2 separate regions of the Homo sapiens genome follow, and region 1 is linked to region 2. Evidence: promoter capture Hi-C in human tissues and cell types (Jung and others, 2019). All regions are on one chromosome and are shown on one strand. Each heading gives the region's core, a stretch centred on a gene start or on the middle of the fragment in contact. The rest is flanking DNA. Distances are from core to core; before and after follow the strand shown. Region 1 overlaps AMBRA1 (autophagy and beclin 1 regulator 1). Region 2 holds the start of MDK (midkine).

Region 1 (7,763 bases), core at 604-3,103, 84 kb after region 2:
TATATAGATGCTCTGCTGTAGAAGGTATGCAGTAACTCCATATTAATTAAAGAAACAAAGGGCCACTTGAATATATCTGACTTGGACTATTCGACTGTCAGCTCCTTAAGAGTAGGGACTACCTTAAATCCCTCTGAGAGACTTAAGTACCTCCGAATCCTTGCACTTAACTAAAGAGTACCTTGCACAAAAGCACAGAATTACAACTCAATTTGTTAACTAGGACTCAAAGTATCTTTGGCTTTGAGAAGATACCCACTCAATCGTCAGAATGGCACTTCCAAAATTCCTAAAAATCTTTTGTCTGATTTCTGCAACTCCAGGAAAGCACCCAACTTCTGGAAGTCTACATAGCACAGTACTCGGGGCCCTAAGAAATTGATGGTTTCATGCAGGGGAAATATAACTGCAGCCAAAACAAAGCCGGGGTGGGCGGGCTTCCCTCTGCAAGTTGGTAAAACGTAACAAAAAAATTCCTGCTCTGGCCTGTGGAAGATCCAAGTGGGTGCAGGCCTTCTCCTTTGTTAGCCTCTGCAAGGCTCTTGCCTTGGGGCCAACAGGATTAGCACAGCCATTTCATGCTCTGAAAAGTCAGAAAAGGAGAGATAGGGAGCTTTTCACTCTAGGAAATGCCTAGTAGTCAGAGACAGTTTTTGTTTCTGTTCAAAAGATAAGTGGGGATGCTGAGGTTAAAAAGCAAAAATTCCAACAATGGTTAATGAAAGGTTTGGAAACAATATACAGAATTAGGCAATGGGATAAACTCCAAGAAGAGAAGAGCAGGTGCCAGAGAATCAGCACTAGATGTTTTCATGCATTCAAAAATTTCCATGTATTTAAAATGTCATCAGGACGCCCTGTGAGCAGACTTGATGCAGCAATTAGAGAATGCAGGCTTATCCCTCTTGGCACAAAATACCCACAAATAAGCTCCTAGTATAAAAGTCAAAACAAAGTAGAAAGAAAAGCTTTACCAAAAAAGTTGAGCAGTTGCTGCATTTCCCTGGATTTAATAATTCACTATGCACCTTCCTGAGATGGTCTAAACTAAACTCAAATACTGTATTCAAAGGCACAGAGCTCCCAGGACCCAATTTGGGTTTTGTACCTTGGGTCTACAGATAGGCTTCAGGTGGTTCAAGAAACCCCTGAAATAGCAAATAAAATTGTGCATGTGTTCATGAGTGTGTTATTACATTAATATTTTTAATTTTCTATATTTTATGATGCTTTGACATCTTAGGGGCTTTGCAGATAAGCAACTGTACCTCCCAGGGTTAGTTACTTCCTGGAGATTGCAAACAACTTGCCTTTGATATGCAAACCAACCAATCCAGAGTCCATACCCTAACTACCTCCTTTATTAAACACCGAGACAAGGCCGGGCGCAGTGGCTCACACCTGTAATCCAAGCACTTTGCGAGGCCAAGGCAGTCGGATCACGAGGTCAAGAGTTTGAGACCATCCTGGCCAACAGGGTGAAACCCCGTCTCTACTAAAAATACAAAAATTAGCCAGGCATGGTGGTGGGTGCCTGTAATCCCAGCTACTCAGGAGTCTGAGGCAGGAGAATCACTTGAACCGGGAGGTGGAGGTTGCAGTGAGCTGCGATCGCGCCACCGCACTCCAGCCTGGCGACACAGTGAGATTCCCTCTCAAAAAATAAAAATAAAAAATAAAAAAAAATAAACACCAAGACAATATTCCCCAGCCCTAAATCACCCCAGGGCCAAGTATGGACAACTAGTGCCCACACCTACAGCCCAGACCCTGCCAAAATTATTCAAACCGATCCAATCCTAAACTTACTTAGCCTCACCCATCCCTTCCCCTAGAAACCCCAATAAAGGCTCATGCTCCTCCCTGCCCTCCTTCTGCCTCCTGACTCCCTGGTACTTCCCCATGTGGCCTTGTGTTGTGTGGCATGGCACACGCTCATCTCTTGGGAACTGTAAGGAACAAACTATCCTTTCAACGGCAATCATCTCTTCATCTTTTGTCCTTACCATATTGGAATAAAAACAAAATCCTGGGCACACGTTACTACAGTTATGTGTAGGTGTTTTTTTCTTAGTGTAGGGTCTAAGTTTTTACCATATTTTCTCAGAGAGTTCACTGTTCTCTAAAGATTAAAAACTAGTGACCTAAATATTTCAGGTAACTTTGGGGCTCAACAGGCTAAGATATATCACAGAGGAAGCCTCTCTAGGGAACATGCAAAGCCAGGTGGTTAGAGAGTGCAAAGAGAAAAAGTGGAGACTGCATAGGGCTTTATTTACTTTTGGTTTTTCCTGGCTCTTTGCAGTGTAAGGGATCATCAGTGTAAGGAGGTAGAAAGGAAAAAGGTTCATCCATCCCCAAAATAGTGATGCTCATGATAAATTAGCACTTCTCATAAGTAACACAGAACTTCTGAAATGTATACATACAATCTTGCTTAAACATTCACAGAAATTGTGCAACTGTCCATGCTATATTCTATAAAAAACAACTAGCATGCTGTGCCAACCAGCGACAGTATCAGCAGCAAACAGATAAAGCCTTGGCCTTCAACCTCACTAAGGCTGACAAAGATACACAGATTTGGGATCTAGACTAAAGTACAGAGTCTTGAGACATGCCTAGAATAAAGAATAGTGATCTCAAAACAGAAAGCTTTTTGATGGCTGAGTGAGAACTGAATATTAAACAGGTATTTATCAAATAGCACTGTGGAAGATGTACATAAAATGGTAGTAAGATGTACTTCTTGCTTGTTTGGAGCCTACAATCCAGTTGGGAAGATAGGACTTCCATCAAAAGCATTATAAATGAGGCCAGGCGTGCTGGCACACGCCTGTAGTCCCAGCTACTTGGGAGGCTAAGGCAGGAGAATCACTTGAACCCAGGAGGCGGAGGTTGCAGTGAGCCGAGATCGTGCCACTGCACTCTAGCCTGGGCAACAGAGCAAGACTCTGTCTAAAAAAAAAAAAAAGGGCAATGTGAGTATCTAACGAGGAGACCAACCACAGCCACAGCCATTTAGGAAGGGGCCACTGGGCACCAATGGCTACCTGAGAAGGAGCAGGAAATTTACAGAGTACAGAGGAACTAGGGCTTGAAGCATGTGGAAAGGAGAATGGTTCAGGATAGAAAGAGGTTACTGCTCAAAGTGGATTCAGGGGTCAAGAGCTAATACCAGTTCAGTGGGAAGCAAAGGCTTATATAAATAATAATAGAGATCAGGTTGAAAAAAGATAAGGAACTTGTCATCTGTGTGGCAGGAAAGAGAAATCTTTTGACATTTTTGAGTAAGTAAATTACACAGTGGATAGCTTTCAAATTTTTATTTTTATCAAAGTACTACCTACCCATAATTTTTAAAGTTAGAAAGTATTCAAGGCTAATAAAGTTAAATGGCAGCCTCCAGCCCCATGACCCACCCTCCTTGATTTCTGTTCTCCAGAGGCAATCACTTTTCAAACCTTTTTTTTCTTCTGATAATTAACCATCATATTTCTAAAATTACTAATGTTTCTTTTTTTCTTTTCTTTTTTCTTTTTTTTTTTTTTGAGATGGAGTCTCGCTCTGTTGCCAGGCTGGAGTGCAGTGGCACGATCTTGGCTCACTGAAACCTTCACCTCCCGGATCCAGGCGATTCTCCTGTCTCAGCCTCCTGAATAGCTGGGACTAAGGTGCACGCCACCACACCTGGCTAATTTTTGTATTTTTAGTAGAGAAGGGGTTTCACCGTGTTGGCAAGGCTGGTCTCAAACTCCTGATCTCAAGGGATCTGCCCACCTCAGCCTCCCAAAGTACTGGGATTACAGGTGTGAGCCACTGCACTAGGCCTATAACTGATTTTTCAATTTCCGCTATTATCTACTGATTTCCTATGATGGGAGATGATTTGTTCCTACCTTCTTTTCTCCCCCATCCTTCCAAAATAGTTACATCCCATGTTTGGGTTAATGTAAATTATTTACAGTATTATAACTATATAAATATTCACAAATACAGGAATAGTATAATAAATTCGTATTTCCTTTCACATGCAATTTTGTTTCTTCTAGAAGAGAAATGTTCTTGTCATCACTTACTAATCATCACTCGCTTTTTCCCATTCTCTTTTTACAATGAATATATACTTTTGTCTAATTCCTTTACTGTTACTCTATGTTACTCTTTTTTTTTTTTTTTTTGGGATGGAGTCTCACTCTGTTGCCCAGGCTAGAGTGCACTGGCACGATCTCAGCTCACTGCAACCTCTGCCTCCTGGGTTCAAGCGATTCTCCTGCCTCAGCATCCCGAGTAGCACACCACCATACCCGGCTAATTTTTGTAGTTTTAGTAGAGATGGGATTTCACCATGTCAGCTAGGCTGGTCTCAAACTCCTGACCTCACGTGATCCTCCCAAAGTGCTGGGATTATAGGTGTGAGCCACTGCACCTGGCCCTTTTACTGTTAATTTAGAAGAGATCTGGGAGAGAGTGGAGATAAACACACATGTTCATTCTTTCATGTTTACCAGAAGTCTAGGGCCACATACTGGCAAGTATTTCTGGCATGGGAAGATTATAAGCAGGGAACAACCAGGCAGGAAACTGCTACGAAAGCATAATGGCCTCAATCAGGGCTAGAATAGTGAGAAGAGATCCTGGAATCTTCAGTTTACTTAGGAAAACATGGTTGCTATTCTTCCAGGGCATAGGATGGTGACAGGTATATTGGAAACCCTCACACATTTGTTGAATGAAGAAATGGCCAAACAACAGCTGCCTTCTTTGAGTGGTTCTGTGAATTATAAGAACAATAGATGATAAAGAATATGCAGCAAGCAGTGCGTGGTGGGACCAATCACTAATACAAAAAAAAGTGGGGAGGGGTGGCGGGCAGCATGGTGGCTCACACTGGTAGTCCCAAGCACCTTAGGAGGTGCCAAGGCAGGAGGATGGCTTGAGTCCAGGAGTTTGAGAACAGCCTGGGCAATATAGTGAGACCTCATCTCTTGAAAAAAAAGAAAAAAGAAGAGGAAGGAGGCCCAAGCATTACCCTTGGCTCAATGTAACTCTGAACTCCTGGGCTTATGGAATCCTCCCACCTCAGCCTCCTAGTAGCACAAGCATCACTCTTAAAGAAAAGGAAGGCCAGGGCCAGGCGCAGTGACTCACGCCTGTAATCCCAGCACTTTGGGAGGCTGAGGTGGGTGCATCACAAGGTCAGGAGATCGAGACCATCCTAGCTAACACCGTGAAACCCCGTCTCTACTAAAAATACAAAAAAATACAAAAAAAAAAATAGCCGGGTGTGGTGGCGGGCGCCTGTAGTCCCCGTTACTCAGGAGGCTGAGGCAGGAGAATGGCGTGAACCTGGGAGGCGGAGCTTGCAGTGAGCCGAGATCACACCACTGCACTCCAGCCTGGGCGGCAACAGAGTGAGGCTCCGTCTCAAAAAAAAAAAAAAGAAAAAAGAAAAAGAGAGAAAGAAAAGGAGGAAGGCCAGACACAGTGGCTCAAGCCTGTAATCCCAGCACTTCAGGAGGCCAAGGCAGGTGGATCACCTGAAGTCAGGAATTCGAGACCAGCCTGACCAACATGGCAAAACCCCGTCTCTACTAAACATACAAAATTAGCTGGGTGTGGTGGTCTATGCCTGTAATCCCAGCTCCTCAAGAGGCTGAGGCAGGAGAATCACTTGAACCTGGGAGGCGGAGGTTGCAGTGAGCCGAAATCACGCCACTGAACTCCAGCCTGCGTGACAACAGGGAAACTCCACCTCAAAAAAAGAAAAAGAAGATGTAATAAAATATTAGATTTAGTTAGTTTAGGCTTTACAGTTATATCTATATCTAACGTATTTTCATTGAATATGGTAAAATGTGTTTTATGCTGAACTCTCCAGCTCCTAATCTTCCCTTCCTCCAAAATGAAATCATTGTTTTTATAACAGAATTTTTTATTTCTCTGAATGTTTTAGAAACAGAGTACCTTGGGAATGATAGTAAGGAGTTAAAAAAAAGAAATAGAATCCTTAGATTACAACAGACTGTAAAAGAAACATTGGGGACAGCAACTATGAAAAAAAGGTATGGTTCCTAACTTGAGAGAACTGACAATCTTGAAGGAGACAGAAAATATGTACACCTATTATATGTGTAATATATATGAAAACTGTATGAAAATATGTACATTATATGAAAATATGTACAATGAAAATACTATAAACTAGGCACAATTTAAATATGTTATCTTCAGAGTAAAATGAATCTAAGAATAAGACTTAGCAACATATATTTCTTTCTTTTTCTCTTTTTTTAGAGATAGGATCTCACTCTGTTGCCCCAGGGTGGAGTGCAGTGGTACGATCATTGCTCACTGCAGCCTCGAACTCCTGGGCTCAAGCAATCCTCCTGTCTCAACCTTCTGAGTAGCTAGGATTACAGGCCCAAACTACCATGCCCAGCTAACTTAAACTTTTTTTTTTTTTTTTTTTGGTAGAGATATGGTCTCACTATGTTGCCCAGACTGGTCTCGAACTCCTGGCCTCGGGCAATCCTCCTAACTTGGCTTCCCCAAGTGCTGGCATTACAGGAATGAGCCACTGTGCCCAGCCTATTTCATTTTAAAAATTTACAATAATCTAATATCCATACTTGCATTCTGATATAACTAAGCATTGTGTAGCAAGATACTTTATACATTAATCAGTTATATAAATAAGACTTGTATTATCTTCCTTAGAGCTAAAGAAAACATGCCAAGTGCCAAAATAAGTGCTCTAAAAGCTTTCATTCAAGACTGGACACCATGGCTCATGCCTATAACCCGAGCACTTTGGAGGCCAAGCTGGGAGGATCACTTGAGCCAGGAGTTCAAGACCAGCCTGAGCAACATAGGGAGACCCCATATCTACAAAAAATTTTTTAAAAAATCAGCCAGGTTGGCCGGGCGCGGTGGCTCACGCCTATAATCCCAGCACTTTGGGAGTCCGAGACGGGCGGATCACGAGGTCAGGAGATCGAGACCAATCCTGGCTAACACGGTGAAACCCTATCTCTACTAAAAATACAAAAAATTAGCCGGGCGTGGTGGTGGGTGCCTGTAGTCCCAGCTACTGAGGAGGCTGAGGCAGGAGAATGGCGTGAACCCGGGAGGCAGAGCTTGCAGTGAGCCGAGATGGCGCCACTGCACTCCAGCCTGGGCGACAGAGTGAGACTCCGTCTCAAAAAAAAAAAAAAAAAAAAAAAATTAGCCAGGTGTGGCACCATGGGCCTGCGGTCCTAGCTACTCAGAAGGCTAAAGTGAGAGGATTGCTTGAGCCCAGGAGTTGGGTGCTTGCAGTGAGCCATGTCTGCACCACCATACTCCAGCCTGGGTGACAAGGTGAGACTGTCTCAAAAAAATAAAATAAAAAGCTCCCATTCTATCTTCACAACCACCCTAAAGGAAGTTTGTTTACTCATCAGACAAATATTTGAGTATCTACTACATGCCAGACAATGAATAAAACAGACAAAAATTCCCACCTTCATGGAAATTACATTCTAGAGGGAGGAGGAGAAAGAACTAATAAGTTCACCATATAGTATGTTAAATTATGGTAAGATCCATGGAGAAATATAAAACAGGGAAGAGGCATGGAAAATGTTGCATGGCGATTTCTGATAGGGTAGTTGCTGAAAGAATTTACTGAATCCCTATCTAATAGATGAGGAGGAAATTGAGGCTCAGATCAAGATAAACCATTTGCCCATGGTCTCCAGGTTACCAAGAGTTTAGACGAA
Region 2 (7,575 bases), core at 557-3,056:
TCAGGACACCGAGCTGGCCGCCTACCTGGAGAACCGGCAGCACTACCAGATGATCCAGCGGGAGGACCAGGAGACGGCTGTGTAGCGGGCCGCCCACGGGCAGCAGGAGGGACAATGCGGCCAGGGGACGAGCGCCTTCCTTGCCCACCTCACTGCCACATTCCAGTGGGACGGCCACGGGGGGACCTAGGCCCCAGGGAAAGAGCCCCATGCCGCCCCCTAAGGAGCCGCCCAGACCTAGGGCTGGACTCAGGAGCTGGGGGGGCCTCACCTGTTCCCCTGAGGACCCCGCCGGACCCGGAGGCTCACAGGGAACAAGACACGGCTGGGTTGGATATGCCTTTGCCGGGGTTCTGGGGCAGGGCGCTCCCTGGCCGCAGCAGATGCCCTCCCAGGAGTGGAGGGGCTGGAGAGGGGGAGGCCTTCGGGAAGAGGCTTCCTGGGCCCCCTGGTCTTCGGCCGGGTCCCCAGCCCCCGCTCCTGCCCCACCCCACCTCCTCCGGGCTTCCTCCCGGAAACTCAGCGCCTGCTGCACTTGCCTGCCCTGCCTTGCTTGGCACCCGCTCCGGCGACCCTCCCCGCTCCCCTGTCATTTCATCGCGGACTGTGCGGCCTGGGGGTGGGGGGCGGGACTCTCACGGTGACATGTTTACAGCTGGGTGTGACTCAGTAAAGTGGATTTTTTTTTCTTTTCTGCTTTTCTTCTTTTGCGGGGGAGGTCTAACAAGCAGCGGGGGCTGCGGGGTTGTCCTCGGGGTGGGGGACTGGACGCTGTCGACAGCACCTTCCTGGGGCCCCGGCTCCCGTTTGGTGGTTGGTCCCAGGGCCTGCCCGGTTCCTGACCTCTGCCCGGCGGCCGCGCTCGTCGGGGCCGGGGGCGGGGCCGATCCCTCCGGCTTCCCGCTTCCCGCGGAGAACAACAATGAAAGTGAAAGAGGGGTGGGGCGGGGGCGAGCCCGGGTTCTGTGGCCCATTTGCCCTGTGGCCTTGAGCAAGCCCCTCCCCCAGGCCTCGGGGGCTCTCCCGGTTTGGGGGAACCGGGCGAGGCAATGCCACAGGCCCAGGGTTAGAGGGGGTGGGCACTTGCAGCTGCCGATGTGGCTGGATCTGGAACTTCTCAGACGGCTCCTGTCAGCGCCAAGTTTCACCAAATCCAGGCCTGCGGGCTCCTCCCCCAGGACCCCCACTCGCAGTCCCTCAAGCCTGTGCTCCCGGAAAGGCACTGGGCGACCGCACCCGTGGCTTTCTCTGGGCGACCGGGTCCCAGACTCCCCCCAGCACAGCAGAGCGCTTCCCTGCCCACCCGCGGAAACCGCCCCAGGTGGGCCGCGCCCCCTCCCCAGCAGCCAGCAGGGCGCCAGGGCTGAGCCGGCCGTGGAGGGGAGCGGGTCCCGCGGGTTATACAGGCGCCGGGGCTCCGCGGCAGGCAAGAGAAGCTGAGGCCTGAGAACGGCCCGGGCCTTGGCGTACGGCAGGGGACGACCTGGGATGGGGGCAGCGGGCGGCGGCGCAGGGAGTGGGCCGGGGGCCGGTGTGCGCGGGCGGGACGGGGCCCGGGGTCGGGAGACCACCGCTCGGAAGATGGGGCCGGGAGAGGCCGCCGTCGCAGCGCAGAGGGCACCGGCGGGGAGACGCGAGGACGCGGGGCCGGGAACACGGACGCCGGAGTAGAAGCGCGGGGGGCGCGGGCTGGAGCGGGGGCGGGGACGCCGGGGTCGGGGGCGGTGCGGGTTTGAGGGGAGGGGGCGGGGCGGGTCCTTCCCTGGGGGGGTGGGGAGAGGGGGCGGGGGCCCATGTGACCGGCTCAGACCGGTTCTGGAGACAAAAGGGGCCGCGGCGGCCGGAGCGGGACGGGCCCGGCGCGGGAGGGAGCGAAGCAGCGCGGGCAGCGAGCGAGTGAGCGCGCGGCGGCCCCTGGTCCGCCCGGCCGCGGCCGATCTAGGGGCTGGGGGCTGGAGGCGGGGGTGGGGGTCTGAGCTGCGTCCTGGGCTCGAGGCGTCCCCCGGGGAGTCGCCTCTTAGCGGTGCGTCCGGGCTAGCGGCGAGGGGCCGCCCCAAGTCTTCCCACCGCCGCCACCTTAGCAGCCCGACTTGGGGCCTGGAAAGTGGAGCACGCGGAGGTGGGAGGGCCCTGCACGCGGCCCCCGGTGGGGAAGGGGACGGGCCAGGGATTCAGACTCGGGCTCTCCCCTCAGGATGCAGCACCGAGGCTTCCTCCTCCTCACCCTCCTCGCCCTGCTGGCGCTCACCTCCGCGGTCGCCAAAAAGAAAGGTGATGGGGGATGATCGAAGGAGGGCTGGGGACGGGCAGGCGAGGCCCCTCCACTTCTGGGCTGGGCCGCCTGGGTTCCTAGCCTGGAACCCCAGGAAGGCGGCTCCCGAGGGAGTCTCCCCGTGCCCCAGTCCTGAACTCTGTTCCTCGCGCGTTGTAGATAAGGTGAAGAAGGGCGGCCCGGGGAGCGAGTGCGCTGAGTGGGCCTGGGGGCCCTGCACCCCCAGCAGCAAGGATTGCGGCGTGGGTTTCCGCGAGGGCACCTGCGGGGCCCAGACCCAGCGCATCCGGTGCAGGGTGCCCTGCAACTGGAAGAAGGAGTTTGGAGGTGAGGCGGGGCGCAGTCAGAGGGCAGGAGACGGGGGGCACAGCCTCGCCGAAGCCTGGGCGGACCCTTGGCGGAGGGCGGGGCCGCGGGCCGCGCAGCGCTGACCTGGGCCGCTCTCTCGCCAGCCGACTGCAAGTACAAGTTTGAGAACTGGGGTGCGTGTGATGGGGGCACAGGCACCAAAGTCCGCCAAGGCACCCTGAAGAAGGCGCGCTACAATGCTCAGTGCCAGGAGACCATCCGCGTCACCAAGCCCTGCACCCCCAAGACCAAAGCAAAGGCCAAAGGTCAGCGAAAGGAGAAGGGGGTGGGGCTGTCGCGGGGGGCTGCCCCCCCCCCCCCCCGCCTGTGAGGGGACAATTCCAAGTTAAACCTTAAGTTTTGAGTCCTGGCCAGTGGCTTCCTGACATCGCCTCACTTGGCTTCCCTGCCTGGAAAAGTCTGAAGATGGGCACTACAAGAGAGGCCGCAGGTGATGCTGGGGACATAAATCCTCCCTGGCCCAAATAGGGACCAACTCAAACTACTCCATTGGAGCATCTGGCTTAGGACCCAGGGAGAGTGTCCTGGAACGGCTTGCCTTTGTCAGCTCTCCAGCCACGGGCAGCATTTGGTCAGCTCTGCCCTTTCTAGTGTTGGGAGGAGGTCAAGGCCCACCCTGGGCCTCTCAGCTCACTCGTGACTCAGCCCAGCGAGGCCAGCAGGGCAGGGGTGAATCTGCCCGCTTCTCAGGTGAGGAGGCTGAGGATGCCCAGGGCTGCTGTGACCAGGACTAGGACTGGAAACTTGAAGGTTTTCTGATCCCAAGTGGAAATAGGAAGCTGGGGATGTCCCATGTCCACATCACAATGGCTGCCCCATCCCCTGCTTCCGAGTCAGCTGATTGGAAACCACTAGGGGGCAGAATCTTCTCCTTCCCTGATGCCCGGGTGTTTGTGGAGCCGGCGGTCTGCAATGGGTCAGCCTAACTGCTGATATGGTATTAATATTTCTTTCTTGTTTTACAGCCAAGAAAGGGAAGGGAAAGGACTAGACGCCAAGCCTGGATGCCAAGGAGCCCCTGGTGTCACATGGGGCCTGGCCCACGCCCTCCCTCTCCCAGGCCCGAGATGTGACCCACCAGTGCCTTCTGTCTGCTCGTTAGCTTTAATCAATCATGCCCTGCCTTGTCCCTCTCACTCCCCAGCCCCACCCCTAAGTGCCCAAAGTGGGGAGGGACAAGGGATTCTGGGAAGCTTGAGCCTCCCCCAAAGCAATGTGAGTCCCAGAGCCCGCTTTTGTTCTTCCCCACAATTCCATTACTAAGAAACACATCAAATAAACTGACTTTTTCCCCCCAATAAAAGCTCTTCTTTTTTAATATATAAAAGCCCCTTCCCAAGGAGTTTGCTGTGGAAATGTGTTTGGGAGTGGGAAGGTGGGGAGAAAGACCAGGCTGTAGGGACTGGTGGGTTTCAGGGGGCTTGGTGGTGGGTGCTCTCCAGAGCTCATGGAAAAAGCAGAACAATTACAAACATTTCTTCCAGGGCCCCTGAAAGGGTGCTCCCCATCAAGTCACCTAAGCCTTTCGGTCCTCATCTCCCTCAGGGACCAGGGCTGGGGAAGGGAACCTGGCTGACTCACTGGAACCACCACACCCATCTCAGCCTCACCCAGTCAAAGGTCTTTTGATACAACCCACAGCCAATCAGGAAGGTTCTACCCATGGGGGAGAGCAGATGCGAGGGCTGCGTGCCTACCTCACTGCCCACCTCCCCCCTTCCCACTGTCATGGAAACCCGAGTGAGCCACCAGGTTGACCCCTTTCCTCTTGCCTGTGTGACCCAGGCCTCCACCCTGCAGAAGCCAGGGGGTGAGAGGTTTGAAGAGGGCAGATGGGAATGCCATCCACCACAGCCTCACCCTGACTCGATGTGTGACCTGGGACAGCCTTCTAAGGCCGGGGCTGCAGGGGGCTGTCTTCTGAATACGTGGACCACTCACGGCTCAGCCTGGGATCGCAGAAGGCCAGACCTCAGTTCCTGAGACAGAACCTCTGACCTCCCAGCTGCCCCATCTTAATGTGACAAGGGCAGTGCTGCTGGGGCGGGGGGGACCTGGCCTCCATCATACCCACCCAGAACCTGGCTAAGTAGCTGCAGCCAGAGGAGATTTCTGCCCCTGGAGTGGGATTTGGGGAGAGGGGGCTGAGCCTACATGCGGGGTGCAAGGGGGCAGAAAGCACCGATTACAGCAGAATGGGGGACCCCACCCTTCTACTCCCTTCCCAAGCCTCCTTTTCCAAGCACTGGCCCCTTTGTTCTTCCTGAGGGGGCCCTGGGCTTCGGCCCCCATCCAGATGTCCATTCTTCCAGCACTGCTGATGGTTGGTCACAGTGGGGCAGGTGCCCACCCAGGCCAGTGCCCCGCAGCTCGCTGAAGCAGGGCCACAGAGGTGGGCCAGGCAGCCCCAGTTCAGACACTCCCTGGGGTGAGCCTCCTCAGCCTGAGCAGAGATCTGGTCTCTGAATGCAGCCACAGAGCCTCTTCTGAACTTCCTCCTCAGCAAACGTGAACGCAGAATGGTGCCTGCAACTCTTCCCCACAGCAAGTGAGCCGTGTGGTCCCCCCAGCACACGCACGCAACACCAGCACCTCCTAGGGCACTCCTGCCTGCCTACCTGGCAGTGCCGATGTTCCGATACTGGCACAGCAGCAGGTGCCGGAAGGTCTTTTTAAAGGTGGCGTTGCACAGAGCATAGCAGGCAGGGTTGATGGTGCTGTTGACGTAGCAGAGCCAGTAGCCAATGGACCACACCGTGTCAGGGATGCAGCTCTGGCAGAAGGTGTTCACCAGGACCATGACGTTGTAGGGCGTCCAGGTGAGGATGAAGGCTAGCAGAATGGCAAAGATCGTTCGTGTCACTTTGCGCTCCCGGGCCGCCATCTGCCGCTTCTTGCGCACCTGGTTGCGAGCGATGCTGGCGAACTTGCGGGCCACGTTGGCCGCAGGGCGCATGCCAGCCGGCGTGGCAGGCACAATCTCAATGGCTGTCACACACTCATTGCCTGTCTGCTTCGTCACAATCTGGATCTTGGACCATCTGGAGGCTGGGTTGAGGGCCCGCGGCTGCAGGGGAGGGGCGGGCATGGCGGGCGTGGTGGCCTCTGTGGTGGACAGCTCTGTGGCTGGGCGTTCCTTGGTGTTCTGGGTGGCACTGCCTGAGCTGGACTCATTGGAAGTGTCCTTATCAGCCACGGGGCGCGGTGGCGGTGGCAGCGCTGGCGGGGGGGCCTCCTCCAGCTTGCCATTGCGCAGCTCCTCCCGGGCGGCCTCCCCGGGCGGGGGCTTCTTGACGCTCTGCTTCATTAGTGGGCTCTTGAGGAAGGCCAGCGTCTTGGCTTTCTTCTCCTTCGGGCCCTCGGGCCGGTGCTTGTGGACTCGGCTGCGACTGGCCAGGGAGATGTGGATGTACAGCACCGTCATGATGACCACAGGCAGGTAGAAGGCAGCAATGGCTGTGCCAAAGGTCACTGCTGGGTTGGACAGGAACTGGATGAAGCACTGGTTGTCGGGCACCGTCCGCTTACCCACCACAAACTGCCAGAACAAGATGGCAGGCGCCCAGAGCACGAAGGACAGTACCCAGGCAGCAGCAATCATGAGGCCTGCCATCTTGGTGGTGCGCCGGGCAGGGTAGGTGAGAGGCTTGGTGACGCAGAAGTAGCGGTCAAAGCTGATGATGAGAAGGTTCATGACGGAGGCGTTGCTCACCACGTAGTCCAGGGCCAGCCACAGGTCGCAGACCACGGCGCCCAGGGGCCAGTAGCCCTTGATGATGTACACGGTGTAGAGGTTCATGGAGAAGGCGCCTATGATGAGATCAGCACACGCCAGGCTGAAGAGGAAGTAGTTGTTGACTGTCTGCAGCTGCCTGTTGACCTTGATGGACAGCATCACCAGGATGTTGCCCACGACAGTCACCAGGCTCAGGGAGCCTGTCACTGTGGCAATGAAGACCATTTCCACCGTCTCATAGCGATTGTGGGATGATGACGTGACCAGGCGCACGGACTGATTGCCCGAGCTGCCATTGACAGGTGTGAAGTTGGCCATGTTGGTTGCCAGGGGTGGGTAGGCCGTGTCTGGGGAGGAAGGGGAGAGAAAAGCATGAACTACAGGAGGGAATGGGGGAGTCATCTGGAGGTACACTGGATTCAAGGTGACAGAGGGACATTCTCTGGCAGAATGCCTTGAGAGAACTCTGTCCCGCCATCCCGCATTTGCCCATTCATTCAACATTAATTGAGCACCTACTATGTGGCAAGCATTGCTCAGGGTGCTGTGGCTACAGAAGTGAATAAGACACACATGGCCCCCTGCCTCATGGGGGGAGACATGCAAACACGTGAGCCACAAAAGAAAAAAAAGGCAGGGTGATGAGAGAGTGAGTCAGAAGGCAGGACAGGCATGACTCCTTGCTAGGTGGCCTCACCCACCAGGTCATCTGGGTGATGAGGAGCCAGCCACAGGAGGAGCTGTGGAGAGTGGCCCTGCCAGGGGCAGTAGCCACAGCAAAGGCCTGGAGGCAGCGCAAGGCCTGGACAGAGGCCAGTGCTGGGGGAGCTCAGGGAAGCAAGAGGAGGAGGAGAGTGGTCCCAGAGGCCCACGAGCATGTGGGCTCTGGAGGGAGGTGTTCTGTTCATCCATTTACCCATTCGGTCATTTCTTAACACCTGCTCTCCAACCCCTGTAGAAGACACTGGGACAAAGGCAATAATCGGGGTATGTATGAGCACCTAACACTGATGGTCTACTAAGTGCCAAGCACTTTTGACACTTAAAAAAAGTGTCTATTTATTTATCTATTTATTTGTAGAGACAGGGTCTTGGTATGTTGTCCAGGCTGGTCTAGAACTCTTGAGCTCAAGCCATCCTCTCACCTCCTGAGTAGCTGGGACTCCAGGCGCCATCATGCCTGGCAACATTTTTTATA

Evidence for each region. Contacts are between HindIII fragments. The study calls those that stand out against the background at their distance.
Region 1: a contact is called between a fragment that was not itself captured here and the fragment with the promoter of MDK in region 2, in 2 of the 25 tissues and cell types used here (IMR-90 fibroblasts and lymphoblastoid cells).

Annotation. Positions count from the first base shown.
Region 1 is chr11:46,463,386-46,471,148 of GRCh38, forward strand. All of the region lies in intron 11 of AMBRA1 (autophagy and beclin 1 regulator 1), which reads right to left. Among named protein-coding and RNA genes, the nearest start is that of MIR3160-1, 15 kb to the left of the region's middle. The HindIII fragment of the contact is 5,711 bases long and covers 1-4,709 here.
Region 2 is chr11:46,379,863-46,387,437 of GRCh38, forward strand. MDK (midkine) reads left to right here and starts at 1,807. Exons shown (of 5, transcript NM_002391.6): 1 at 1,807-1,896; 2 at 2,195-2,271; 3 at 2,432-2,599; 4 at 2,725-2,886; 5 at 3,607-3,939. The coding sequence starts at 2,196. The coding sequence ends at 3,632. It overlaps DGKZ (diacylglycerol kinase zeta), which reads left to right. Exons shown (of 31, transcript NM_001199267.2): 31 at 1-689. The coding sequence ends at 85. CHRM4 (cholinergic receptor muscarinic 4) reads right to left here. Exons shown (of 2, transcript NM_000741.5): 2 at 3,927-6,724. The coding sequence starts at 6,695. The coding sequence ends at 5,256. RefSeq lists an enhancer at 538-1,172 and silencers at 672-881, 1,312-1,511, 1,942-2,051, 2,472-2,521, 2,497-2,791. The HindIII fragment of the contact is 7,629 bases long and covers 805-7,575 here.